Linked DNA regions of Homo sapiens: regions 1, 2, 3, 4, 6 and 7 are each linked to region 5. Evidence: promoter capture Hi-C in 16 types of primary human blood cells and fetal thymus (Javierre and others, 2016). All regions are on one chromosome and are shown on one strand. The core of a region is centred on a gene start or on the middle of the fragment in contact, and the rest is flanking DNA. Distances in the headings are between cores, read along the strand shown. Region 1 overlaps SLC39A11 (solute carrier family 39 member 11). Region 2 overlaps SLC39A11 (solute carrier family 39 member 11). Region 3 overlaps SLC39A11 (solute carrier family 39 member 11). Region 4 overlaps SLC39A11 (solute carrier family 39 member 11). Region 5 holds the start of SSTR2 (somatostatin receptor 2). Region 6 overlaps SLC39A11 (solute carrier family 39 member 11). Region 7 overlaps SLC39A11 (solute carrier family 39 member 11).

Evidence for each region. Contacts are between HindIII fragments. The CHiCAGO score rates a contact against its expected background, and 5 or more counts as called.
Region 1: a fragment that was not itself captured here is called in contact with the fragment with the promoter of SSTR2 in region 5 in 1 of 17 cell types (M0 macrophages); the score reaches 5.3 in M0 macrophages.
Region 2: a fragment that was not itself captured here is called in contact with the fragment with the promoter of SSTR2 in region 5 in 4 of 17 cell types (endothelial precursors, megakaryocytes, erythroblasts and 1 more); the score reaches 7.2 in endothelial precursors.
Region 3: a contact is called between a fragment that was not itself captured here and the fragment with the promoter of SSTR2 in region 5, in 17 of 17 cell types (erythroblasts, endothelial precursors, naive CD4 T cells and 14 more). The highest score is 23.8, in erythroblasts.
Region 4: a contact is called between a fragment that was not itself captured here and the fragment with the promoter of SSTR2 in region 5, in 1 of 17 cell types (fetal thymus). The highest score is 5.1, in fetal thymus.
Region 6: a contact is called between a fragment that was not itself captured here and the fragment with the promoter of SSTR2 in region 5, in 1 of 17 cell types (erythroblasts). The highest score is 5.4, in erythroblasts.
Region 7: a contact is called between a fragment that was not itself captured here and the fragment with the promoter of SSTR2 in region 5, in 4 of 17 cell types (total CD8 T cells, megakaryocytes, non-activated CD4 T cells and 1 more). The highest score is 5.4, in total CD8 T cells.

Annotation. Positions count from the first base shown.
Region 1 is chr17:72,790,935-72,794,988 of GRCh38, forward strand. The region is part of intron 6 of SLC39A11 (solute carrier family 39 member 11); the gene reads right to left. Among named protein-coding and RNA genes, the nearest start is that of LINC00511, 150 kb to the left of the region's middle. The HindIII fragment of the contact is 3,076 bases long and covers 1-3,051 here.
Region 2 is chr17:72,748,225-72,752,205 of GRCh38, forward strand. The region is part of intron 6 of SLC39A11 (solute carrier family 39 member 11); the gene reads right to left. Among named protein-coding and RNA genes, the nearest start is that of LINC00511, 110 kb to the left of the region's middle. The HindIII fragment of the contact is 2,059 bases long and covers 1,055-3,113 here.
Region 3 is chr17:72,723,529-72,727,318 of GRCh38, forward strand. The region is part of intron 7 of SLC39A11 (solute carrier family 39 member 11); the gene reads right to left. Among named protein-coding and RNA genes, the nearest start is that of LINC00511, 85 kb to the left of the region's middle. RefSeq lists an enhancer at 2,013-2,082 and a silencer at 2,133-2,202. The HindIII fragment of the contact is 904 bases long and covers 842-1,745 here.
Region 4 is chr17:72,675,738-72,679,798 of GRCh38, forward strand. All of the region lies in intron 7 of SLC39A11 (solute carrier family 39 member 11), which reads right to left. Among named protein-coding and RNA genes, the nearest start is that of LINC00511, 37 kb to the left of the region's middle. The HindIII fragment of the contact is 156 bases long and covers 2,239-2,394 here.
Region 5 is chr17:73,163,563-73,167,568 of GRCh38, forward strand. It overlaps SSTR2 (somatostatin receptor 2), which reads left to right and starts at 1,448. Exons shown (of 2, transcript NM_001050.3): 1 at 1,448-1,726. RefSeq lists an enhancer at 573-822 and a silencer at 1,363-1,702. The HindIII fragment of the contact is 15,303 bases long and covers 1-4,006 here.
Region 6 is chr17:72,808,549-72,812,540 of GRCh38, forward strand. The region is part of intron 6 of SLC39A11 (solute carrier family 39 member 11); the gene reads right to left. Among named protein-coding and RNA genes, the nearest start is that of LINC00511, 170 kb to the left of the region's middle. The HindIII fragment of the contact is 1,233 bases long and covers 1,656-2,888 here.
Region 7 is chr17:72,701,273-72,704,905 of GRCh38, forward strand. The region is part of intron 7 of SLC39A11 (solute carrier family 39 member 11); the gene reads right to left. Among named protein-coding and RNA genes, the nearest start is that of LINC00511, 63 kb to the left of the region's middle. The HindIII fragment of the contact is 7,138 bases long and covers 1-3,633 here.

The sequences.
Region 1 (4,054 bases), core at 264-2,763, 370 kb before region 5:
ATCCATGTAGCAACTTAGCCACGTTGAAGACAAATCCCCAGCTCCCTCACCTGCAGATATTTACACGAATCCAGTGGTTCTCAAAGTGGAGGCCTCAGATCAGCAGCATCGGCATTGCCTAGAGACTTAGAAATACTAATTCTCAGGTCCCATTTCAGACCTACTAAATTAGACATTCTCAGGGTGGGACACAGCAAAGTTCTCCAGGTGATTCTGATGCATGTTAAGTTTGAGAACCGGCTGGGCACAGTGGCTCATGCCTGGATTCCCAACACTTCGGGAGGCCGAGGTGGGCAGATTGCTTGAGGTTGGGAGTTTGAGACCAGCCTGGCCAACATGGTAAAACCCTGTCTCTACAAAAATACAAAAATTAGCCGAGCGTGGTGGTGCACACCATGTCCCAGCTACTCAGGAGGCTGAGGCAGGAGAATCGCTTGAACCTGGGAGGCAGAGATTGCAGTGAGCTGAGATAGTGTCACTGCACTCCAGACTGGGTGACAGAAAGAAACTCTGTCTCAAAACAAACAAACAAAGGAAAAAGTTTGACAGCCACTGCACTAAGACAAAAATAGCAAATTGCAATCACAAATACTTCCACAGTGCTTCCTGTGTGTAGGCACTGTTTTAAGTCTTTATAGACATTATTTCATTCAATGCTCATGGCAAACCTGTGATAAAGGTACTGATATAGTGTGGCTCTGTGTCCCCACCCAAATCTCATCTTGAATTGTAATCCCCATGTGTTGGGGGAGGGAGCTCGTGAGAGGTGATTAGATCATGGAGACAGTCCCCCCATGCTGTTCTCATGATAGCAAGTGAGTTCTCACAAGATCTGATGGTTTTATAAGGGGCTTTTCGCCCTTTTGCTCGGCACTTCTCTCTCCTGCTGCCATGCGAAGAAGGACATGTTGGCTTCCCCTTCCACCATGATTGTAAGTTTCCTGAGGCCTCCCCAACCCTGCAGATCTGTGAGTCAGTTAAACCTCTTTCCTTTATAAATTACCCAGTCTCGGGCAGTTCTTTATAGTGGCATGAGAATGGATTAACACATGTAGTATGATAACTTCTCATTTCTCAGAGAAGAAAATCGAGGCACAGAGGGTTAGGTCATTTTCACAAGTTGTTCTGACCCCCTTTAGTCACTGCAGTGGTGAGGGAGACATCCCTCACCTTAAATAGTATGAAAATAGTGTGAGACAGCTGAACATATGACAAGCAATGCTGCACAGACTAGTGACATAACTCAGAAGAGGAGAACATCGCAGGCCATGTGGGGCCACTCAAAGGTTGCACACAGTGAACCAGAAGGGGCTGTGCAAGGCAGGTTCTGTAGTGACAAGAGGGTGAGGTGACCCTTAGTTCCCGCAGGAGGATGTGGCTGGCTTGTTTGAAGAATTCTGCTGGCAGGCAGTGAGGTAGAACCCAGAAAGTTGAGGACTGGGCTGGGTGCAGTTGGTCTGGTTGATGTGGAACTACCTAGGTGGGGAGCCTTTCCTACTGGGTGGGAAGAAATCTAGCCAGAGCCAGGGAACTCGCAGCTAAGTCTTTGAGGTTTTGTGAGGCTCCAAGGTGTCAAGGAAGCACATGAAATTTCAGGCCTTAGAAAGTATGAGAGAGGAGGTGATAGAGCTAGCATTTGAACCCAAGCTCCTGTGCTCCAGAGTCCACGCTCTAGTTTTAAATCACAGTTCTATCCTGTCTCCCACTGTCTTTAATCAAGGCACACTGCACACCTCTGTAAGAACTGCCATGATCCCTCCTGGGTCAATATGCAGGCCAGGTCGCGGAGGCTGTGGGAGGTTAAGGTCAGGGGTCTTCCCCCACTGACTTAAATGCTCCTTTATATGGGGGTTGCATCTCCTTCACCAGCTCCTCCACACACCCCACTGGAAATTAATAAGGACATAAACACTGCCCATTGTGCGCAGCATGCACAAACACATTCATTCACTAGCATATGGCACTGACTCTTTTTGCAGAGACTATGTTAGGACCAGACACACAAAGATAACATCAAAACAAGGCTCAGGATGCTCCCTACTGCCGGCGGGGTGGGGGCGAGGGACAAAAATACAAACAGAGCATTTCGGGCAAATTACAAAAGGCTTTATATTCATTCCCAAGGTGTTTGGACTGCATCCTGGAGGCTCTGGTCAGTCAACAGAGGCCTGTAAGTCAGGGAGTGAGGAGCAGATTTGCCATTTTAGGAAGATAATTCTGGGGGATGGTGTGGGAAAAGCTAGAATGAGGATGGGCTTATGGCAAAGCACCAGACAAAGGCTATTGTACACCCTGAGACAGAGAAGCAGGATGATCAAAGAAGAGAGGCAGGGTCACAGATTCCCAGGGTGCCATGCAACAAGGGTGACAGACAGGTTTTGGCTGGCACATCTTAAGTCCTAGAGCTGAGAAAGCATTCTCCAGTTAGCCACAGACCCCACCCCTCCCTACTGTCTTTTATTAGCTGACTTGCTGTGTTTACATGAATTGCCTGGTACCCTAAGGTGTTTATGTTTGAAAGGGAGAGATTTTCTTTCTTTCATACAATGTATAACATGTGATGGCAGATTGGATTGCGTGGAATAGAGAAATAGACAGGGAGGAAAAGGACTAAGGGTACCAGATTTCTAGCTTTTAAGAGGGAAATGCTTCTTTTTTTAATTTTTTTTTAAAAACACAGAGATGGGGTCTCGCTATGTTACCCAGGCTGGTCTCAAACTCCTGGCCTCAAGCAATATTCCTGCCTCAGCCTCCCAAAGTGTTGGGATTACAGGCGTGAGCTGCCACACCCAGTCTGGAAAATGCCTCTTGATGTGCACATCGTTCTATCTGAATTAATGGAATACAGTGCCCAGAAAGGAAATGAATAACAATGATCAACAAATTCTGCTTCTCTAAGATTAAGGCTAGGGGAGTGTACCTTGGCAGTTGCAGAACCTGACTCCTGTATCCTTTCTCCCCCTTCACAGCAAGGCTGGGTTACAAATGACACAGCTGATACCACACCGGCCAGTATACAGAGAAGAACAAAGAGTCTTCAGGTTGAAAGAAAGCTTGAGGGACCCATAGTCCTGCCTCTAACTGTAATAACAGCCTTCAAAATCTAGGCCATTGTTAGCATCAGGCTCTGCCTGAGGTTTGTGGCATTCTCCTGAGAGAAGCTTTACCCATCCTGAGAAAATGAGATTTTGCACCTTGGAGCTGATGGGAACGCCTGGGAACAGTCACTGTACACAGCTCACAATGGGTCCCAGCACCTGCTCTCACCTAGAAAGGAAATTCAGAAGCTCCTGCTCATCACCATCACACAGTCCATGAGTACAAATCACCCATCATAAGAAAGGAGCTTGCTGGAGAAAAGGCAGCAAAGCCTTGGAGAATACAGCAGAGGCAACCAGCCCCCACCAAGCCAGCGAGCGCGGTGAGGACTCACACTGACTCCACAATCCTTCTGTTGGGTCCCAGCCAATCATTTTTCTAATTGAGTGAGAAAATCTGATAATATTGTTCCCCTGACTGAAGCCTTCGTTTCTTCTCATCACTCTAAAGATGAAGTGCAAAGTGCTTATCATGGTCCCCAAGGCCCCGGTGTCCTGTCCTCTGCCTATATCCCCAGCTGTGTCCAAGCCACTCCCTGCTCCCTCCTTCTCTACACTCAAACTGTCCAGTCCTCCCTTCTTTTCCTGCATCTCATTAGCACCTTACTTGTGCAGGGCTTTGTGTGTGCTATGCCCTTAGCCTGGGACACTCGCCTCCCTCTTCCCATCTCTTCACCTGGCCAATTTATTCTCTTCCTTCAAGTCCCAGGGTGACTTTCATTTCCTCCAGCAAGTGCCTCCTCTCTGCCCCTCTGAATTAATTATCTTTTGCTGTATAACAAGGTACCCAACATTTAGCAGCTCAAAACAACACACATTGACTATCTCACACTGTTTCTGTGGGTCAGGGATGGGGAAAGAAAGGCACAAGACCTGTCAACATCCACGACATTAGCATCCACACTGGATATGAGGGATGAATGCCACCAGAATTCTGAGGGCAGAGGACCTCCGAC
Region 2 (3,981 bases), core at 834-3,333, 410 kb before region 5:
GGCTGGAGAATCGCTTGAACACGGGAGGTGGAGGTTGCAGTGAGCCGAGATCGCGCCATTGCCCTCCAGCCTGGGCAATAGAGGGAGACTCCATCTCAAAAAAAAAAAATTCTTATCAATAAAGTCACATCCTATTGTTTATTAAGAAATATTGACAATTGAAGATACTCTAACATGAATCCCCTTTGTAACTAAAATAACTACTTCCTAATTAATGTTGACAAGTGTGCTTTTTTGGCATATCCGATTGTTTCACGTTGGGATCCCTCTGAACAGTGACAGACCCAGAAAATGCTATTCTCCAGTCATGGCTGCCGACTTAGAGTTGAGCCTGACTCCAGCAGACTGCGAAGACACAGGCAGCGCCTCGTTTGTATGACTGAAGACAGCCACATCTTCAAACAACAGGTGAAGGCATCTGGTTAAACACCCACATCTCGGAGTCAATTTCAATTTGCTTTAGTTCTCAATAACCAGACAAAGATCAGATCTCTGTGTTTCCTCAGAGAAAAAGGGAGAGAATGCCTATACTGGCATTGAAGATTCCGAGCTGTTCCAACTAACGAGCTCCGTGTCATGCCCAGATGCATGCCTCTAGCCAACTCCCCTGACCTTGCACCATGGTCGTCCACACCTGGGTTTGCCCTGAATCTGAAGAAGTATATCTGCAGGCCCAAGGACAGACCAAGTACGGGAGAGGGGCCAGAAAGGGCACCGCAGTCTACCCTCCGGGCCTCTTTCTGCCGAGCTGAGCACACACAGTTGTTGGTTTTTATTTATTTATTTAATGAATAATTGCTTATAACCAAGGGAGTTGTTAGTTTTGAGGTCAAGGGACTAAGCAGAAGCAAAGAGGCAGGTGAGGTAGGTTCTGACTCAGTGGGGGAACCTGCCGTCAGAAGAGCTGCCATCTTGGAAGACACAAAAACTCAAGATTCCCTCTGCTTTGCCCAGCAGGGAATTATCATGAAATCCCTGTGCCCTTTGAGTGGGGAGGGCTGCTATCTGTTGCTCCCAAACACTCTGTTCCACCAATGAAGCCGTGGTGTAGAAAAGCTTGCAACCCGGTAGCAAAGTTCCTTGACTCTGAAGTCAGAGCCTCATCAATCACCTGGCCACTGGGCTTCCTCTCCCTACGTCCAAAGTCCACGGCAGGCAGGGAAGTGTCTGGATCTGACAGATTCACTGTATGAAAGTGGACAGGCTTATGTTCTGGGGAACCTTGTATATTCACAACAAAGTTGTCTGGGAGGCTTAGAAAGCAGGGACAACCTAAGCAGCTCTGTAAATATGAGGACACAGGACGAAGGAAGCATGAGGCAATGAGTAGTGTGGTCAGACGGGAATTATTTTTCCCAAGACAAGCCTATTTTGTGATAAGTGGGCCCTGGGCAGCAGAGGTGGGCAGGCTCTCTGGTCCCCTTGGGAAACCGGGGCTGCAGATGGAGGCTTTGCTAAGTGCCACCCCACCCTAGACAGTGGGAGCAGTCCCCAGCCCCACACTGCACACCGAAGGCAGGAGGTCTCTAATCACTGGTCACAGGGATCTCTCTGCTTGATCCTAGGAAAATGCTGCCTCTGAGGTGGGTAGACCATTCCAGGAGGAAGAGGGGAAAGCATGGCTGAAAGCACCTCTATGACTCCAGGCTCAGATTCGTAAAACACTAGATGGAAGTCGTACCAGGAATTCAGCCACACATCCCTCCTGGCTGGGAAGGCCTGCAGCTGAGAGCACACGCACAAAGAGACACAGGCTCCATTGGCCCAGCCTCTCACCTGGCTCATGAAAAGATCAATGCCAGGAGTTCTCCACAAAGAGACTGGGGATTCCTGGGGCAAGGCACAAGCCAGATGGGTCGAGGAATCAGGTGAACCTCTGCAGCAGGTGGGTGGCGCCCATTCTGTGCCCCTTGGGAGCCAAGAGAGTCACCCTGGGAATTATCCCACAAGAGGGTCTCACATCCCCAGGAAGTGGATGGCCACTGATCCCTGCTATTCCTCCCCCAAGTTCACATGAAGAGGTCGTGCAGTCTGGGTCCCAGGTTGGACCCGATTGCCTTGTCAAAGGGAAAGGCAGCCTAGGGCCAGATACCTCGGAACCACAACCACATCGCCTGTGATTGGAGCCTCACCCCATCCCACAGGCCGTACATGGGCATCATGAACTCTAGCACACACTTGACTATGGAATACCTCTGGAGGTGGGGTGGGGGGTGGGGAGGACTTATTTATGTTTTTGTAATTTGCATGTTCTTGAGGGCCTAAAAAAACTGGAGGAAAGGATTTTTTTTTTTTAATTCCCTTGGAGGACTTTCGAACAAAATTAGACTCTGGCAGTTCCTTCAGGATGATGAATAACCTAAGATACAGGTTCATTTATCACTCCCCACATGTGATTCCCACCAAAGTATTTCTAAAATCCAGGCAAGAAAAAGATTCTGAAGTCTCAGATCACTAGTATGTTTTGCTACATGGAGGGCAGGCATCATACCACAACGTATGTATCCAAGGGAGGGAGGGGCATTTTTTCCTACAAGCAGAAGTATTTCAATTGTTAATGGAGGAAAAAAAAAAACTGCCTTCCTTACACATCCCAGTTCAGCAATTGTCAGGCTTCAGGTGTCAGACGGCAGCCTGTCAGCGCCCTGGGATAGGCCCCGTGTGGTCATGGCCTTGTTGGTCATGCCAAGATGATGTCTGAGAAGCTGGCATTATGGCTTAGCTCAAAGAGAAGGCAGGAGGCTGTGCATGGTGGCTCACACCTATAATCCCAGCACTTTGGGAGGCCAAGGCGGGAGGATCACCTGAGGTCAGGAGTTCAAGATCAGCCTGGCCAACATGGCAAAAACCCCGCCTCTACTAAAAATACAAAAATTAGACGAGCGTGGTGGTGGGCGCTTGTAATCCCAGCTATTTGGGAGGCTGAGGAATGAGAATCACTTGAGCCCAGAAGGCAGAGGCTGCAGTGAGCCAAGATCACACCACTGTACTCCAGCCTGGGCGACAGAGTGAGACTCCATCTCAAAACAAAAAAGTGAGCGTACAATATTGGTGTGCTAACATATGATTATATAATCAGGTTGCTATATGAAGGTAAGGAAAAACAATCCTAAAGCTTCAAACTCTTCCCATTTGAAGAAGACAGTTCTAAGAATCGTGGCCCCCATCCTCTCATCGTCTAGGTTTTAATTAGGTTCTTTCCTTCCTTCCTCCCTTTCTTATTACCATTTTTAATTGTGATAAAATGTGAATGAATAACATGTAATTGAGCATCTTCCTCATTTTTAAGTGTACATTCATTGGCATTAAGTGCAATCACTTTTGTACAGCCATCGCCACCACCCATCTCCAGAGCTCTTTGGTTTTTTTTTGAGACAGAGTCTTGCTCCGTCGCCCAGGCTGGAGTGCAATGGCATGATCTCAGCTCACTGCAATCTTCGCCTCCTGGATTCAAGTGATTCTTGTACCTCAGTGATCCCAGTAGCTGGGAGTACAGCCATGCATCACTATGCCCGGCTAATTTTGTAATTTTGGTAGAGACAGGGTTTTGTTATGTCAGCCAGGCTGGTCTCGAACCCCTGGCCTCGAGTGATCTGCCTGCCTTGGCTTCCCAGAGTGCTGGGATTACAGGTATGAGCCACTGCACCCGGCTCCAGAGCTCTTTTTATCTTGCATAATTGAAACTCTCCACCCACTGAACCCAGATCCCCATTCCTCCTCCTCCCTCCCACAGCCCCTGGCAACCATCCTTCTACTTCCTGCCTCTGTGCCACTGACTCCTCAGGTGTCTCGCAGAGCAGGACTCACACAGTATCTGTGATGCCCTCTTTCTTATGTCATATTATCCCCTTGTGTCCCTTCTTCATTTTGTCAGGGGGCCTCCTTAACCTCCTACGGGATGTGTGGGTGATAAACTTCTGAACCCTGACATAGAAAAGAAAAATTTTGATTTTTCTCTGTGACTTAATAGCTTGACTTGAA
Region 3 (3,790 bases), core at 44-2,543, 440 kb before region 5:
GCTAGGAGAAGAAAGTACAGGCGTGAAGAGTGCTAACTTCAGAACACCCCAAAATCAACTAGATTTTTCTTTTTGCCATTTTTGAGGTGATACATTTACTTTTCGAATGACTTCCGTTGAATAATGTTATTTGTTCCATCAGTCCTGGGGAGTGAAGAAAGTGGGTCGTAAAAGTCTGCCAGACACAGACGAAGCCAGACCAAGATGGAACCTTGTGGGCAATCTCAGGTTAGCAGGTAATCAGATCATTCACCCATCTGTCCATCTGTTTATCCAATTCAACCCAGAGATTCACAAGCACCAGGCTCCATGATGGCATATTTTGCAGGCAAATGGCTATTAAGTTCTTCATTCTCCTCCACGTGTTCTGGAAAATCACCAGGTTTCCAGGTAACGACGGGATTGTATTTGTCAGCACAGAACTGGGGATGTGGAGGACAAAGTCTCCAAGGAGTAGTTCTTCTTCCCTGGTAGGATTTCTCAGTCAAAGAAAAATCTTAGACGTGCAACTATTGGGCGATCAGTGGTGCTAACACGGGAACACACATCTTACTGGCAAAACACTGTCCCTTTTATTTTTTTTTTTCTGTAAAACGTTGCTCTTATTGGGAGCTTGAAAAGCATTATCATAAAAAGCCATGGGAAGGGAGAAGGGGAGAGGAAAGAGAGGGACAGAGGGGGATAAGAATTGCCCAGGTTTGGACAAGGACTCTGGAGATGAGGCCCAAGATGATTCATTTCTCCCTGTTCGCTTCCCAGCCCTCAATCCCATCTGGCTCCTTTCATTTGAGTTTTCTATTGCAATGCACAAAACAGATAATTTTCCAAAAGCTTGCTCAAAAGCTTCCAGGTGGTCCAAGAATGGGAGGGGCACTTCTTGCAGTTCAAATGGGACAAGAGAAAAAACATCAAGAAAGCGGTGGGGGGGAGTGAGCTTCAGAGGGGAAGCTGAGACAATGAGGAAAGCAGACCTTTTGAGACATCCTGGATGTTCCCTCCACCCTCTGAAATGGAAACATGACCAGCTACAGACAGATCAGCTCTTAGAGGGGAGGAAAGAGCCCCAGGGTTCAGGAACCAGGAGCTCTGACTTGAGTCATCCCTGATGACTTCCTTTTCCACTCTGAGACTTCAGTTTCTTCACTTATAACATTAGAGACTTGGGCTAGATCAGGGATTTTCTGCCAAGTGCAGAGGGGAACTTTCATGGAAAGGGTGGTATCTATTCCATCCAGAGTGTTCGCTTAGGAACTTGTTCCAAAAGCTCAACTGCTAAAAAAAAAAAAAATACTTAAGAGGCAAGATGATCTTTCAAAGTCATGTCCAGCCCACCAGTCCTACAAATTCAAGCCTGTTTTCCCAGTTGCAGTTGATGAAATAACTATTCTAAGTTCTCTCTCTCCAAAAAGATGAATCCTGTGCTCAGTGAATCTCTGTGGATTGAAGGGATGGATGGATGGACAGACTGATGAATGACTTGATGGCAAATTACATAGGATGGTGAGAACCTGTTTGATCCTGGTCTGGCTTTGCCCATGCATCCGGTGGACTTCCTTGGCCTGGCCCACTTTCTTCACTTCCCAGAACGCATGCAATAAATAACATTATGTTTTTAAGTCACTAGAAAAGTAAATGTCACCCTCTCCCCTCCAAATGGCAAAAAGAAAAACTGAACTGATTTTTGGGTGTCTGGAAGTGAGGACTTTTCGCACCTCTATGCTCCCCTGCTAGGGTAGACCATCAAAAGCTTGGAGTAGCTTCTGACACTTTAATTGGCCCATTTCACATTTCTACCCCTCTACGTAGGGTCACATAAAAGCTATACTTTTATTCCCAACATGGGAAAATAAGACAATAACGAGCTTTATAAATGCTTAATTAAATGGGGGGTGAAAAATCAGGGTATAACAGCCAGAATATAAGGATGTTACTATTTTGAAAAATATCCAAAGCAAAGTTGGACATGTCCAAAGTTACATGTAACTTACATATATGGTCCTTAGCCTTCTGCAGATACACCTTCTGTACAAGCCGAACATAGATTTGGATAGCGACACACAGTCACCTTTCCTGGTCAAACTTTTTCCTTCTGGTACTGTGTCTAGCAACCTATGCTACCAAGCTACCGCGTGGTGGCGCCGTCTGTCCACCGCTGCCAGCCGGCACTTTCAAATTCCACTGTCTCTTTGTAAGGTGAGGCTGTGTAGTGTGGCAGGATGAGCCAGGAAAACTGAAGAGAAGGAGCTGCCAATAGATCACTCTAGAATTCCAGACAGGGTAGTGTGATAGGTTCAAGAGAAGAGCTTGCCTGCATAAAATAAAATTGAGAGCACAATGTGCGATTGCAGATAAAGAATAGAACAGGATTGTGCCGAAGTGACTCAAGGGTGGGAGGGGCATTTTTCTGCTGTGAAAGGGTGGGGACAGTGGGATCAAGATGTCAAAGTATTTTCTCCACAAGTACCTTAGTGTCCTCAGGCTGGGTCTCCAATTCTCAGGCTAAAAGCCACTCTCCAGGGAGACCAGGCTGGGAATGCTGAGACCCAAGTTGCTAGGCAGGGAGGAGGTTAAGATCAGCAACTTTGAGGAAGTAAGGGTCTCCCTAGGATGCTCCACGAGTCTGGGAGACTGAGTGCTGCCTGGGGCAGGTCTAGGCATTGCAAGAGCAGCTGCATGGAGGCTTGGAGGGAGCCAGTGAAGACAGCTTGCTTGTTCAAAGATGTTAGAGTGAACTATAATTAAAATGTTTCCATGTGAGTTCTCCGAGACTCCTCCCCGCCACAACAATGAAGTCTCCTTTGTAACTTCTCTACAGGTAACCTGCAAGCATGCTTTCAATAATCTACAGGATGCACACCTGGAGTCCCAGCTACTTGGGAGGCTGAGGAGGGAGGATTATTTGAGCCCAGGAGGTCAAGGCTGCAGCAAGCTATGATTGTGCCACTGCACTGCGGCCTGAGCAACAGAACAAGATCCTGTCTACACACACACACAAACACACACACACACAATCTACTGGAGCAAAAGTAGAGGGGCTGCTTGGACAGGTAGACACACATGTAACGTATCTTACACATACAGACATGCTCATCTACTAGCTAATGTTGATGAATGACCAGGAAAATATGTCAAAATATGCCACTTTTCTTTCTAAATAAAGGGTTGCTTTGTTAACTAATGGCTGCTGTCTTAAATAATTGTTAATATATCAACATATATATGTATAAGCCAGGGGAAAGGATTTATCTGACTTACGATCTTTCCTCTTTGATCAGAGAGGCAAACATATATCTTAAAATTGGTTTTGATGCCTCCATGTGTAATTTAATGGGCTATACTACATCCAAATGTAGACTAATCAACCATGCCTCCTTTACCAAGTGTCTGGGTGTTGATTAGCAGTAGCTGGTCCGGTCATATCTTGGGGATGTGTTTTGTGGACTATCCATGGCACACTAAAGTTCGCAGCCAGCCTCCTCTGCTGTGCACAGCCTGCTCTGGGATGGCCGCTGCACCTGTAGGTCAAGGCAGGTCCACAGACTACAAACGTCTCTTGACGCGTGCTTAGTCAAAGCTTAAAACAGGAAGTGGTATGTGAAGCTGAGTGTTTAAGCATAAACAGTCTTACTCTCCCTGCTGGTTTGAATGATGCCTGCCACTGAGTGAAGTGGGAGCTGAGGGCATGTCTCCTCTCCAGAGAACATGTTCTTTGAAGTGACGATACAGCAGAAAGGAAAACCGCTTAAGCATGCAATTCCCCAAGCACATACGGTCTGAAGAATTCCTCTGT
Region 4 (4,061 bases), core at 1,067-3,566, 490 kb before region 5:
CAATGGCGCAATCTCGGCTCACCGCAACCTCCGCCTCCTGGGTTCAAGTGATTCTCCTGCGTCAGCCTCCTAGCTAGGATTACAAGCACGTACCACCATGCCTGGCTAATTTTGTATTTTTAGTAGAGATGGGGTTTCACCATGTTGGTCAGGCTGGTCTCAAACTCCTAAGCTCAGGTAATCCACCTGCCTTGGCCTCCCAAAGTGCTGGGATGACAGGTGTGAGCCACTGTGCCCGGCCCAGATATCCCAATTTACTTGAGGATCCTGCCCAGCCAAAGTCCTAAAGGTGGGTTACAAGCCCTTGTCACTCTCCTTCAACTCACAATGTTTCACACACACACACACACACACACACACACACACTTGCTGTATTAAAGCAACTCTCTTTTTTTCAAATAAAATGGTAATATGGCTATAAAGAAACACCTGCCTTATTTGCCTGAAACAGGAAATAATTATAAAAGTAAACATGTCGAAAGCAAAATAGAAATAGAGGGCTGGCATGGATGTGATGGAAACCTAGACACTGCGGGATGTCCAGGGAGGGACCCCAGCCCCTGATACCTTCTGAAGTAAAAATCCCAGAAGGGTGCCTTCAACAGAAATCTTAGATAATTTTTTTGAAGGCAGATGGAGAGAGGGTGGTTCCAAGAGCAAATGGGATCTGTAACCTCGATGATCACAACATTTCAATATGGTACCTGGGAAGTAGATGAAATTAGCACATCGAAAGAGCTGGTACACACTAGATGCTCAATAAATGCTACTGCTAGACTTCTTATCGTCATCACAATCAGCAGCAGCATGCAGAAAGAGTAAACATAGCAGGTGTGAGACTGCTGTCCTTAGAAATGTCTGCTTACAAAGTTGGCCCTTAGGCAGTTCCTGGGAACTTGAATGGTAAACAGTTCCCTACACAGATATAAAAATTCCCTAAATAAGAAGAGAGCCTTGCTGTACCTAAACAGTTTGTGCAACTAATATTGCTTACGTCAAATGCTCGCTTCACTTATGGAAGTCTAGACTTTTGGTATACGTTAGGCAGAGGGTGCCTATGTGACCAGTACCCTCAATAAAATCTCGGGCACTGGTTCTCGAATGAGCTTCTCTGGTCGACAGTATTGTGCGTGTGCCGTCCCACCTCACTGTTGGAGGAGTGAAGCCCATCTGGTGTAACTCCCCTGGAAGAAGATTCTTAGAAACTTGTGCTGGTGGTTTCCGGACTTTTCCCTGGGTACCTTTTTTCTTTGCTGCTTTTGCTTTGTAGCTTCTCACTAGAATACATCTCAGCTGTGACTATGTGCTGAGTCTTGTGAGTCCTTGTAAAATCACCAAACCTGGGTGCCTTGGGTAGCCACTGCACAAGCAGCAGCCGCAGTGGCTGAGGGTGGTGTCAGGTGGCTGGACCTAAGGGAAGCCTCTCTCAGAACCCATCACATCCTAGCACTGTGGATGGAAGGCAGCCAGCATTCCTGACCCTAGTGGGGTGGGAGTTGCAGGGCTGGGGTTGGAAGAGGCTAAGTACATAAAATCCAGGGCCAAAGATGACAGTGGGAACACAGGGACCAGCAAAAGAGGCACACAGGAGGCCATGGCCAACACCAGCTGGGCCCTGCTACATCACAGCAGATGCTGCAAGGAGAAAGGCCAACATCTGGTCAGATGCCACTCCTTTCGGGTCAGGAGATGGGACATTCTGAGAACCCAGATCTCCTTTAGGAAAAAAGAGAAGAGGGTGGGAGAATCTCAAATTGAATGCATCTGTAACCTGAACTGAGCAAATTTAAAGCCGGAAGTGACGCGGCCATCTTTAAATGGCATGTTTTTAACATCAGGGCAAATGAGGGTTTGTGAGTGAGGTTCACCAAGAGCAGTGGTTCTCAAACCCGAGTGTGCATCCGAATCACCTGGAGGGTTTGTTAAAGCACAGACCGTGGGCCCCTCCCCGGCAGGCATAGTATCCAGGAACACTTGGGGTATTGGGAAAATGAAGCTAGAAAGACTCCCTCAATTTTGGTCCTCCTCCCTAGAGAATTACTAGAACACAGCAGAGTAGAGGGCCAGGAATTGCAAGTAGAGGGCAGGATAAAGAAAATGTGGTACATTTACACAATGCGGGAGGGAGAGAAGGCTACCGACGGCCTTTCCCCTGATACTCAAGGTCGTCTTGGAAACAACGTCACCACCTACAAGCCCATCCAGTGCTCCCGTGTTCTCCTCTTAGTTTGAATACCAAGCTTAACCTGGCAGGAGCGCCCTTTCCCTTGAGGATCTCGGAAGACAGTCAAATGCATTCATCAACTAATATCCCACAAACAGAAGCAGAGGGTCCATGTTTCAATGGCATTTTGGGCATACAAAAAATTTATAACTTTCCTGAGCTCACAGCAAAGCTTCCCATAAAGGGCTGCCATAAATGGCAGTTTGGATGCCCGTTCCGCTCACAAAAGCCCATTTAACTCAAGTGTGCATAGTTTATAAGTATTTAAGTGCCTTGTGGGTTATGTAAAGCTTGTGGGGGAGTTCAGGAACTGAATCACCATTTACAACGTGTTTTTTTTCCCCCACTGTGGGAAAATACCTTCCCTGTGAACAGCGAGAAGGAGGGTACTAAAGAAATGTGTAAGAGATGGAAATGTGGAGGCTGGAGGGATGTTCTCCTTGCTTTGAAACTCCAAGAACATGGCCAGGCACGGTGGCTCACATCTGTAATCCTAGCACTTTGGGAGGCCGAGGCGGGCAGATCACAAGGTCAGGAGTTTAAGACTAGCCTGGCCAACATGGTGAAACTCCGTCTCTACTAAAAATACAAAAATTAGCCCGGCATGGTGGCGTGCGCCTGTAATCCCAGCTACTCGGGAGGCTGAGGCAGGAGAATTGCTTGAACCCAGGAGGCAAAGGTTGTAGTGAGCCGAGATTGCGCCACTGCACTCCAGCCTGGACGAGAAAAAAAAAAGAGAGAAACTCCAAGAGCATGCCTCATGCTCTTGGGGTAGCAATCATGAAGCAGTTTAGGGATTCATCGATTCACAAATAATTTCTGAGCTCCTAATCTCTCAGAGACGACATCCAGGGTGCAACAAAGAATAGTGCTTGAGGCTGTTCACAAGAGCCAAGACAGGGAGTCAACCTGTGTTCATCAAGAGAAAAATGGATAAAGAAAATGTGGTACATTTACACAATGGAATACTATTCAGCCATAAAAAGAATGAGATCGTGTCATCTGCAGCAACACGGATGGAACTGGAGGCCATTATGTTAAGTGAAATAGGCCAGGCACAGAAAGACAATGGTTGCACATTCTCACTCATAGGTGGGAGCTACAAAAGTTGATCTCATGCTGGTAGAGTAGAATGGTGGCTACCAGAGGCTGGGGAGGGAAGAGAGGAGAAGAGTGATCAAGAGGTGGGTTAAGGGGTACAGTAAGAATACAGTAAGATGGAAGGATCACATTCTAGTATTTGACAGTATAGTAGGGAAATTATAGTTAACAGTAATTTATTGTATGCTTCAAAATAGGTAGAAGAGAAGAATTGTAATGTTCCCAGTACAAAGAAAAGATAAACGTTTGCTGTGATGGGTATCTCAGTTAATCTGATTTGATCATTACACAGTGTCTACAGGTATGCTAAAAATATAGACAACAATTACCTATCAATTAAAAATAAAATAAAAGAATAGTGCTTGAATCCCTGTCCTCTGGCTGCTCAGAGTCTGAGATGCGCAGACACAGAGAAAGGCACTAACCCCCCAGGGAACCTGTTCTGCAGGAGGAAGGCAGCAGCTATTGGAACTTGAATAGAGACAGCCGCGCCCACCTCGGGCTTCTTCAAGGGCTCCTGGAGGAAGCTGGCCAGGTAAGGAGTTGAAGACCCACTGGAGGCAAAGGGGCCAACGTGTGTAGAGACATGTTGCAGGAGGTATTGATCTTGATTGGGCTGGGTGGCAGGTGGAGGATGGCCTGGTGGGAGGTGGGCTTAGAGGACACGTTAAGGATTTGTTAAAGAATTGTGGTAAAATTGGCTGGGCACGGTGGCTCACGCCTGTAATCCCAGCAC
Region 5 (4,006 bases), core at 198-2,697:
GGATGCCGAGTTCCCCTGAGCACAATTCCACGATGCCCTCCTGATATTACTATTACCTCTCTGCCTCTCCCTCTTCCCACTGACGGTGAGCAGACACAGCCCTCTTCCAGTGAGCTAGCCACCCCAGCCCTTCCACTTGCATACACATGTCTAAAAGAGATGCTGGCTCCCAGATTGACTCCTGGAACTTAAGGCAATTGCAGCTCAATTTCCATCTCACCCTGAGCTCCAGGATGCCAAGATTTAAGCCCTATCATGACCAACGTCTCAGAGAGAGATGGAAACTCCTGATCCCCATCTCACAGTGGGTACCCCAAGATACAGCTTGGCCCAGATAGAAGAGAGAGCTGGCTGCTGCTGTACCTGGTGGTTGCTTTTCCATGTCACTCATCTATCTCTAAGGCTCACCCCACCTGCCACACAGCTTCTGGACTTTTACTTTTCCCTGGTGAATTGGAAATCAGATAATAGGATGGACAAATCAAGGCAGCTCAGCTCACAGAGAAAGCTAGTTGGGGTTTGCTTTCTGTTTTCACATCCTCTAAAACTGTACTGAGGATGGTGTGTGTGTGTGTGTGTGTGTGTGTGTGTGTGTATACCTATGTACTTGGAGGAGGGTGAGGAAGGGGAGGCTGCAGGATTGATTATGACTTATTAAACTATTGGAAAAGAGGCTGAATCATCACAGTCAAAAATAAACAGCTGCAACTCCATGCGACTCCCACTTCTTGCCTGCTCCCCTTTGCTCCCTCACAGCATGTAGGAGAGACTGTGCTGGGTCAGACCAGCAGGTGCTGACTGACGTGGCTACAGCAAGGGGACCACCTGTATGGCCGCTGCACCTCCAAGCTGTGGGACGCAGGGACAGCTGGGACCAGTCGACGTCCACTGGCCCTCTGATGGCTCCTAGGACTGAATCTTGGACTCCAGGTGCGGGTTTACACTCCCTGCGCTCATTGGGAACTGCATGGAGAAGCGCTATCCCCTGAGCCCTTTTTCTCCCTACTCTTAGCCTGGCCCTGCGCCCTGCGCCCGGGGCTGGCCCACGGTAAACACAGCTTTGCTAACTTGTTTGGCTAAGGAAATCACAGAGGTCCCGGTATAAGTCTGGGTCACCCCGGCCGCCACTCCAGCTGCCTAGAATATATGGGTGGAAGGGAATCGACTCTGTGAAATCAGAGGGAAAATAGCGCTTGTCCTTGCCATGAGTCTTGAGGAGACCGAAAACGCTTAACCTTTTACGCCCCCGCAGGCGGGTCCCCTCTCTCCCCGCTCCCCGGCTGTCTGTAAGCTCTGCCTGCGGCCACCCGCAGGCGTTTCAGCCGGTCTCACCCCTGTCCTTCTGCAGGACCCGGGAGGAGGGGTTGGGGGGGCGGAGCGAAGCCGCTGTGACGTAGCGGGAGGGGGGCGTGGGGAAATGTGCCGAGGGGCCCGGGCTGGCTGGGCCAGTCCCAGCGGCGCAGCCACCCATGCGCGCGCGCTCGCAAGACCACCAGCGCCCAGAGCCCCAGTCTGAGGCTTGGCGCCGGGGGTCTGCGGGCGAGGGGAGCTCTCTACGTGCGAGGGGCTAGCGGGAGCCGGCACAAGAGGGTCGAGGAGCCAGGAACCCCAAACGTCCGGCGCCAGGCGCTAGCCAAGCTGCTGCGCGCCCCGGCGCCCAGCTGGCTCGGGGACAGCCGCTGGGTGTCGGAGACCGGAGCTAGCGGATTGCAGCGGAAAAGCAAAGGTGAGGGGTGTGTGTGTGTGTGTGTGTGTGTGTGTGTGTGTGTGTGTGATAAGAGAGATGGAGGGAGCGAGAAGCGCACTTGGGCACCTGTGTGCATCTGCGCTGATGGTGGTGTGCCCATCCGAGTGCCTGAGCTTAGGTCCCGGTGCGTGATTCTCCGCTCTTGTGCCTTTTGGGGTGATTGTAGTAGGAATGAACGACAACGGGTACCCTTGCCTGAGTAAGGGGGCTGTGGGTAGAGTGTGCTGGAACGGACGTGTCCTCGCAGCCTCATGCCCGTGTGCGTGGCGTGTGCCCTTTAGCCCGAGATTTCAGGTAGCTGCGACGGGTGACAACTTCTCTCCCAGCCCCCTACAAAAGAGACCTGGCGCGAGGGGAGCGAGGCCGTGAGATGCCAGCTGGGGCTCCTGCGGGAGCGCACCCGGAGATCCGAGCCTGCCAGAGGCAGGCGGCGGGCGCAGAGCGGAGAAAGAGGGGCTTCTCTCCCTAGACGCTGAACGATCTAGGATCCGTCCCCGTCCCCCACCTCGGGACAGAAAGGACAGTTTGTCTAGGTTTGGAGAGAAAAAACCACTGCATAGGCCGTGCCCAAAAGCCGCTGGCCAAGTCCCCCAAGCGACTGTCTTCTGCGCCCCGATGTCTCTGTCCTCAGCGCCCCCCCCCCACACCCGGCACCCCTGCTGTGCGTTTCGATACTGGGCGTGCTGGCGCCACAATCTCCGCTCTTGCCTCGTCTTCCTGGAAATGGCACAGAGTTCTTTGGGAAACCCTTGCTCTGAGGATCAGCGAGTTGGATGGCCAGGAGGAGGACTTTCTGTGCCAGCCGGGAGCAACCGGCTCCGCGGTCCTGACACTCGCCCCTCCATTTCTCAACCCCGTAGGCCAGCACCGCCCCGGCTTTTCCCAGGCGCTCACGCGCCGCGGTGGCCCTCAGGGGCTTTTGTCACCCTGCCAGTGGGGGCTCTCGCTCTAGCCGCACAGAGACCAAGCCGGGTTCTGCAGGCCCTGAGGGAGGCGGGGGGTGGGAAGTGAATGCGGGAAACATGATGGGGAGAGGAGAAACTGAAGCTGAGTAGGATTTAGGACCTCCCCTGATGTCGGGTCGCCATCCCAACACTCATTTCTTGGGCTGGTAATCACAGCCCCTATGTAAAAGGGGGGCGGGGGGGGCAGGTGCGTGAGACCATTCTCACCCTCCTCTCTACAGAGCCTGGACATGGTTCAGAGGAAACCAACCACTAGCCATTTCCAGCATCTAACAATTCTTGGGCTGGAAAAACAAAGAATGCAGAAAACGAAACTTCCTTGTACATTTAATTTAACCACAATTCATCTAGAATTGTCTGCCTGGCATTGGAATATTCTTTCTCTGAAACAAAAATGAAACAGAAGTCTCTGGAAGACCTTAAGCGGCTGACTTCTTTGTTAAATAAGACTCCCCATGATTTAAGCTCATTTCTTGCTTAGAGGAGCCTTCCCACTCTCAGCCGGCTCCCCAGCCTCCCACCTCCACCACCTTCACCAAGACTCTGAACCCTGTCTGTTGCTACCATTAAGCAATTCTGTCCTGTTGACTCAAACTCCAGTTAAAATGACCGAGTTAGGGCTGGAAAGCAACACTCAACCCTCTCTCATACTCCCTGCACCATCATCGTTCCTAGCCCAAAAGCTCTTAGACAGGGGCTCTGCCAACCCAGGGGGATTCCGTGTTACTCAGACATTGGAGTGTGACCATTCATGTTATATAGATGGGCCCCTGGAAATCCCCATGATAAGGTACACTCTGATTGCAGGCAGCTTGAATAGGATTCTGGCTCTGTAGAATTAAACCAACTGACCAGATGGTTAGAAGTGATAACGAAACTACCCAAGTTAATCCAGGGATACTAACCACAGTTTCTGTACAGCTTCTGTTTTAATTGCTGCCAGTCTATGCTTTTTTACGCAATGCAGACATGAAATTCCAGGTGCCTCAAATACTTCACAAAATGGTCAGCCACAAAGCCCAGATCTCACTTCACAGACAGTTGTGTGGTAGGGAAATGAGCACAGAAGGAACGAGCAATGCACCTGGCAGTTCAGAATCAATCAGAAGCAAAGGTGAGCAAGGATCCTCAAGTACTTGTTGCTGGCCAAGTCTCCTTTAACTGATCTGCAGTCTTTCCAAGGATTAAGAAGTAATCTTCCATCTACACCCAGGCACCAGGAAAAGGACCTAGCTCAGGGGAAATGTGTCAGCCAAGTGAATTAGTCCCACTCTGCTGAACACACCACCCTTTG
Region 6 (3,992 bases), core at 1,022-3,521, 350 kb before region 5:
AGCTAAATGACAGCCAGCAAATGTCCACTAGCTTGTTTTTCTATAATCCCTTGCTGCTCAGGAGTCGTGTGGCCAGAGGTCACAAGATTTGTGATTTCTGCAATTGCTCCTATAGATAACACTATACATCACTATTGTAGAACCTAAGATTGGTCTTTTGAGATGTTTTTCAGACTTTTGCATTCTGGCACCTGACTGACCCCACCTGGATCTGTGATTCCTAAGCAATCCTGTCCTGTGGCTCCCACCCAGAGTCGGACTCAGCACATGAGGACTCTTCCACACCTCTATGATTTCATCCCCAACCAATCAGCAGCATGCATTCCCAAGCCCCCTGCCCAACAAATTATCCATAAAAATCCTAGCCTTTAACTTCTGAGGGAGGCAGATTTGAGTAATAAACTGTCTTCTCTTTCCACTTGGCTGTCCTTATGTTAATTAAACTCTTTCTCTACTGAAACAACATTATCTCAGTGGATTGGATTTATCTGTGCTGTGGGCAAGAAGAACATGTTGGGTGGTTACAGTTTGGAGATTATTTCTCTAAGATCCTGCAGCAGAGTCCAGCAGTCTTTTCCTCTCTTCCCCGGAGGATATAATCTTGGTTTCACTATTCCCAATTTCGGCTTAGATCATCTTCTTTCTTTTCTTTCTCTCTCTCTCTCTCTCTCTCTCTCTCTTTCTTTCTGCCCTCTCAGGCCCACCTTCTCCTGGGATTCACTTTCTCCAGATACCTCTCTTGGTTCATTTATCTGGATAACAAATTTTTCTCCTGCCGTGGTACAGGAGCGGCAATTGTTCTGTTATTTGGTGTGGGATGAGCTCTAAGGATTCCTGATACAGATCACAACCAACCATCCTGTTTGCGATCCCATCTCTACTCCAAGTTTGGAGCCTCAGGATCTCGACACTTCCTAGGGTTTATGCAGGACATTTCAGCTTGCTTCTTCGTGGCTTCCCTTTTGCAATCACCTGGACTCCATCTTTCTCTACTCTTTGTCCATTTCTGCATCCATGGTTCAAATATCTGAGGACCTCTCATCACTCATCACATCTTGGAGTAACAGTATGGCATTAAAAAGGTATGTCCAAAAGAGAGAGACTCTTACTTTCATTTTAACGGTATTTTAGGAAGCAGCAGAAATGCATGTGTTAAAATCTGCCACATTTAAACAAGGTCTGCTTAACTATCCCAAGCCTCAGATTTTGTTTGTTTGTTTGTTTAATTGAAAACGAAGAGTTTGGGCGTGGTGGCTCACACCTGTAATCCCAGCACTTTAGGAGGCTGAGGTGGGCAGATCACTTGAGGTCAGGAGTTTGAGACCAGCCTGGCCAACATGAAGAAACCTCGTCTCTACTAAAAATACAAAAACTAGCCAGGCGTGGGCACCTATAATCCCAGCTACTTGGGAGGCTGAGGCAGGAGAATTGCTTGAACCCAGGAGGCAGAAGTTGCAATAAGCTGAGATTATGCCACTGCACTCCAGCCTGGGTGAAAGAATGAGACTCTGTCTCAAAAACAAAAACAAAAACAACAAAAAAAAAAAAAAAGAAAAGAAAATGAAGAAAACTCTAGTAATAATAATACTTGAATACTCTCTTAAGAAAATATCTTTCCCCAATTCTCAAATAGTACTTACTGGTTTACCTATTAAAGCTTAACACATGCTTATGCTATGACCCAACAATTCTACCCCTAGGTACATATACAAGAAAAATGAGTGTGTGTTCATCAAAACACAAATACAAAACACTCATTGTGGTTTTTCTCCTAATAGCCCAAACTGGAAACACCCAAGCATCCATTCACAGAAGAATGGACAAATAGTAGCATATAAATACAATAGAATACTGCATAGTAAAAAACATGTAATCAACTATTGCAATGCACACAGACGAACCTCAGAGATGTCACATTAAGCAAAAGAAGCTGGCTACAGAACAGAATGTGCAGTATGATTCCATTTAAATGATATTCCAGAGCAGGTGGAACCTATCTATGGTAAAAAGAATTAGAATACTAATTATCTCTTAGAGGAAATTACTGCTTAGGAAGAGCTATCAGGAATGCTTCTGAGTTGCTAGGGTATTTTGTATCATGATCTCAATAGTGGTTATATGGGATATACATATGTAAAAATTCTTTTTTTTTTTTAAGACAAAGTCTCACTCTGTTGCCCAGGCTGGAGTGCAGTGGCATGATCTTGGCTCACTACAATCTCCACCTCCCAGTTTCAAGCGATTCTCCTGCCTCAGCCTCTTGAGTAGCTGGGATTATAGGTGCACACCACTACATCCGGCTAATTTTTGTATTTTTAGTAGAAAAAGAGTTTCACCATGTTGGCTGGGCTGGTCTCAAACCAGCCTGGTCTTGACCTCAGGTGATCTGCCTGCCTTGGCCTCCCAAAATGCTGGGATTACAGGCGTGAGCCACCATGCCTGGCCCGTAAAAATTCTTTAAGTTGTATATTTAAGATTTGTTTTACTGTATATATGTTAAAACTTGATTTGAATAAAAGCAAAAAAAAAAAAACATTGTTTAGACTGCTATAACAAAATACCTGAGCAGCTTACAAACAACAATTGTTTGTTTCTCACAGTTCTTGAGGCTGGGAAGTCCAAATTCATGGCACCAGCAGATTCATTGTCTGGGAGGGTGCATTTTCTGAGTGTCAGACTGCCAACTTCTTCCTGTATCCTCACATGGTAGAAAGGGTCAGGCAACTCTATGGGGCCTCTCTTTTAAGGGCACTAATCCAGTCTCTAGGGCCCCACCATTATGACCTAATTACCTCCTGACAGCCCCACCTCCTAACCATCACATTGGAAACTGGGTATTTTGGGGGTACAAACATTCAGGCCATGGCAATCACTGTTTATAATTTTAAAGCTTTGTGGAAAAATAGTTTTCCAGGGTAAAAGTTCTACCTAATCAGAAATCCACCTGGATCTCAGAAGGGAGAGGCTGGGCATCTTTGCCTGTCAGAGATGCAGTAACTGAGATGCTGTATCTAAAATGCATAGCTTAGTCTTTCTTCTCCCTGTTCTACTATCAGTGGTGTGCTCTTTGAGGAGTCACACTTTCTGTGAGCTTCAATTTCCTCTTACAACAAAGAGGTGAACTATATTATCTTTCAGGTTCATCCAAATTCTAAAATTCTTTGTCCACTTGGGAAAAGTTTGTTGGTTTTGTTTTTTATTTAACAAAAATATTCTCTTTCCTCCCTTTCAACCAGACACATGATTTCTCTGCTCTTAATCCTCCTACTACTGACCAGATGATAAGGGAACCACATCACCAATGTCTTTTATACTCAACTAGCTTAGTGCAATGAATATAACACATGCTATTAGATGAGAATGTAACTTTGCCATAAAAATAGTGAATCTAAAGCAAAGCCTTATATTTATAAAGTGATGAAATTGCATCCACAATAAAAAATCCTATCAGCAAAGCTGTGTAACAATACAAGGCTTTGGAGAGAGTTATTTCTACCAATGAACTTAGTGAATCACTAAATAAACTGTCTTTTTGTCTCCCCCACAAAAACTTGGCCTTAGTATAAATGATATTATATTTTCTCTGGCCAGAAAAATAAGAAAAAATAAGATACTATTATGCTTGGAGAGAAAGCTGCTCCCCAAGGTCATGTTAGTGTAACCAGAGATCCTTTCGGAGGGAAGACAAGCATCTGGGCAGTCAACCTGATGGGCTGGCAAACTTTATCCGTTAGTAGATTTTCTCCCAGGGTCAGCTTTAAGAATCATCACTGCTGTATCCTAGACATTTTGGTTTCTATTTGAAATCAGAGCAACAATAAAAATTAAGGTACATTTGAATGATTTAGAATCTAGAGTCTAGGGTTGGATACAATGTATAACAAAGATGTCTAGGCAATTTAATTGCATCATTCAGATTGCAAAAGAAATGGTTAGCCACACAAGAAGATAATGTGCCTTTAAGCAACTTAAAAGTAATTCTTGATGAGCAA
Region 7 (3,633 bases), core at 438-2,937, 460 kb before region 5:
AGTGGGGATCTATGGAGGACAAAAACTAGCTCCGCTCTCCACTGAGGAGGGCACACAAGGACGTGGTGTTGAGGGACCATCTCCTTGTGTGGCGATGCTAAGCAGGAAGGCTGTGGGGCCAGAAAGAGCTCTTTCAAGAGATAGTGAGTGATGCAGTTTAAAGAACAGAGACCTGGCTAGGCATGGTAGCTCATGTCTGTAATCCCAGCACTTTGGGAGGCCGAAGTGGGCAGATACCTGAGGTCAGGAGTTCGAGACCAGCCTGGCCAACATGGTGAAACCCTGTCTCTACTAAAAATACAAAAATTAGCCAGGTGTGGTGGTGCATGCCTGTAGTCCCAGCTACTGGGGAGGCTGAAGCACAAGAATTGCTTGAACCTGGGAGGCGGAGGTTGCAGGGAGCCGAGGTTGTACCACTGTACTCCAGCCTGGGAGACAGAGGGAGATTCTGTCTCAAAAAAAAAAAAAAAAAAAGAAAAAGAGAAAGAAAGAAAGAGAAAGAAAAGGAAGGAAGGAAGGAAAAGAAAAAAAAAAAGAACATAGACACGCAGAGTGTGGTGGCTCACGCCTGTAATCTCAGCACTGTGGGAAGCTGAGGTGGAAGGACTGTTTGAGCCCAGAAGTTAAGTTTGAGACCAGCCTGGGTGATATAAAGAGACCCCATCTCTATAGAATGTTTAAAAATTAGCCAGCTGTGGTGGTGCCTGCCTGTAGTCCTGGCTACTCAGGAGGCTGAGGTGGGAAGATTGCCTGAGCCTGGGAGATGGAGGCTGCAGTGAGCTGTGATCACACCACTGCACTCCAGCCTAGGTAATGGAGTGAGACTCTGTCTCCATAAAATAAAATAAAAAAGAACATAGACATTTCTCAGGGTGGACAGATCACTAACCTTGGATATACCAATCCACATGCTCTCATAAACTCGCAAGCTAACCCTATCTTCCTGTGTTCTACTGAGTCCAAAGATAGGAGGCTACTGTTTTTTTCTTTAGGCAGCACCTAGCACAGTGGCTGGCACATAGTAGGCCTTCAAGTGCTTGAAGCATGTACTACCTAGGGTGGTGGTCTCAACCAGGCCAATTTGGACCCCTAGGGAACAGTGGGCAATGTCTGCAGACATTTTTGGTTGTCACAACTAGGGGGAAGGCATCTAGTGGGAAGAGGCTAATGCACAGGGCACCCCCCGCCTACAACAAAGAATTATCTACCAGATGATCAACAGTGCCAAGTTCTAGAGACCGACGGTCTTCCACTCTACCAAATGAGTCATCAAAGTACACGACAGTGCCAAGTTCTAGCAGTCATATTTGCACAAAAGCAGGAAGGGTCCATGGGAGAGTATGGGAATTCCTCTTTTCCAGGGAATTTTAAGAGTGGATTCCAGCCAGGCATGGTGGCTCACAAATGTAATCCCAACACTTTGGGAGGCTGAGGCGGGTGGATCACTTGAGGTCAGGAGTTCCAGACCAGCTTGGCCAACACGGTGAAACTCCGTCTCTACTAAAAATACAAAAATTAGCCAGGTGTGGTGGTGCATGCCTGTAATTCCAGCTACTCAGGAGGCTGAGGCAGGAGAATCGCTTGAACCCTGGAGGTGGAGGTTGCAGTGAGCCAAGATCACGCCACTGCACTCCAGCCTGGGTGACAGAGTGAGACTCCATCTCACCAAAAAAAAAAAAAAATGGAAGAAAGGAAAAAAAAAATTGATTCCCTCTGTCTTTGTGGGGTTGGGAGTCAGAAAGAAAGAAGACATAAATGGGCTGCCTGATCTCCTAAGCTCCCTTACCGCCCCATCACCAGACACCAGAGCTGTCGGTTGGCAGGTCTTCATCTGTCTGCCTCTTCCTCCCACTTGGGTTTATTTTATAGGCTTTTCCTGAGATATTAGGGGGTTTCCATCAGGAGTGGATCCCTTCCAAACCACAAGGCAATGAAAAGTCCTGCATGTGGGACTGATGTGCTGGTGTGTATGTGCTTTAGGAGCGAGAAAGACAGCAACATAAACCCTGTGCATCAAAGCCAAATCCCTCTACACTCAAGTTCCAACTTGCAGAAATTTTTATAGCCAAGTAATGATATGCAAAGCTGATGGCCTTTTAATTATAGCAGTTCCGTGTGGGGAGAAATAGGAGAACTATTATAATAAGGAGACACAGTAAGCAAAAGAACACCTTTGAATGGGCATTTTCTTGCTGGGGTAAAGGTAACATGGGGGGTTGGGGGGCGATACCCCACAGGGTTCCAAGCATGTCACCCACATTCTTTGTCTTGACAATATGCCCGTGAAACACACAGAGTAAGGTTTCCTGCCCCCACTTTTCTGATGATCTGTTTCTCCATGGCCAAACTGAAGTCCAGACAGATTCAGTCCTTAAATCCATTTTGGAAAACTGTTAACATCCATGGCCAACCAAGATCAACTCAGAGTTTTCAGAAACCAAGAACCTGAATGAACATAGGAGATGTTTAGCTATCTTCTATCTCAGTGTCTCTTTGGGAGAGGCTTAGAAATTAATTTCTCTGTTTGATGATCCCTAAACAGAGGAACCCACCTCAAAATAAGACAAACTGTTGGCCGGGGGTGGTGGCTCATGCCTGTAATCCCAGCACTTCGGGAGGCCGAGGTGGGTGAATCCTTTGAAGCCAGGAGTTCAAGACCAGCCTGGCCAACATGGTGAAACCCCATCTCTACTAAAAATACAAAAATTAGCCGGGCATGGTGGCATGCGCCTGTAGTCTCAGCTACTTGGGAGGCTGAGCCATGAGAACCACTCGAACCTGGGAGGTGGAGGTTGCAGTGAGCTGCGATCATGCCACTGTACTCTAGCCTGGACGACGGAGTGAGACTCTTTCCAAAACAACAACAACTATTATTTTTACCAGAGCATACCTGCTATTTGCCCAAACACTGTATGGAGCATTTTAGACATATCAACTTGCTAGTTCATGTAATCTTCTTATGGGAGATAAACTATTATCATCCCTCACTGACAGATGAGGAAACCAAGGTACAGAGATCTCGATTCACTTGTTCAAGACTATGTAGCTAGTAAATCGCAGCACCTCGATTTGGACCTAGGAAGTCTGACTTCAGGGTCCTTGCTCTAATGTGGTGCTAGGCTCCCTTTCTGGAGAACAGCTCCCCAGTTTTCCCATCATTTAGATTAAAGAAGTCAAAGATGCGGCTAGATTCACTGGTCCTAAGGAATAACAGTAAAGATGAGGATGTATGTTGACAAATCCCTTTTATTTGATACGCTTTTCAGTGGGTCCTGCAAGGCCCTGAATTTTATGGTAGACTCTATGCATAAAGTGATGCTGTCCCTCAAAAAAGCCAAAGCGCCATCTGTGTGCATTTTATCCACAAACCAATGGAATCAACCATGAAGGACCAGGGGTATGAAGGTCCCCTCTCATACCTTAGCATGACCTGGCAGTTCCCTGGGGGGTCCTCTTCCCCTCTCAGTCCATGTGGTTTAGCTGGAGCTCCAGTCCAAGCTCTAGGGATAAACTGTGACCCTACCCTGAACAATGGGTGCAACTCCATCTCTCTAGCCACAGTGATTGGTCCAAGAGGGAGTAAGTGGCCCAAGTTGGTCTATTAGGATTCCAAGGGAGCTATTGAGAGGAGAC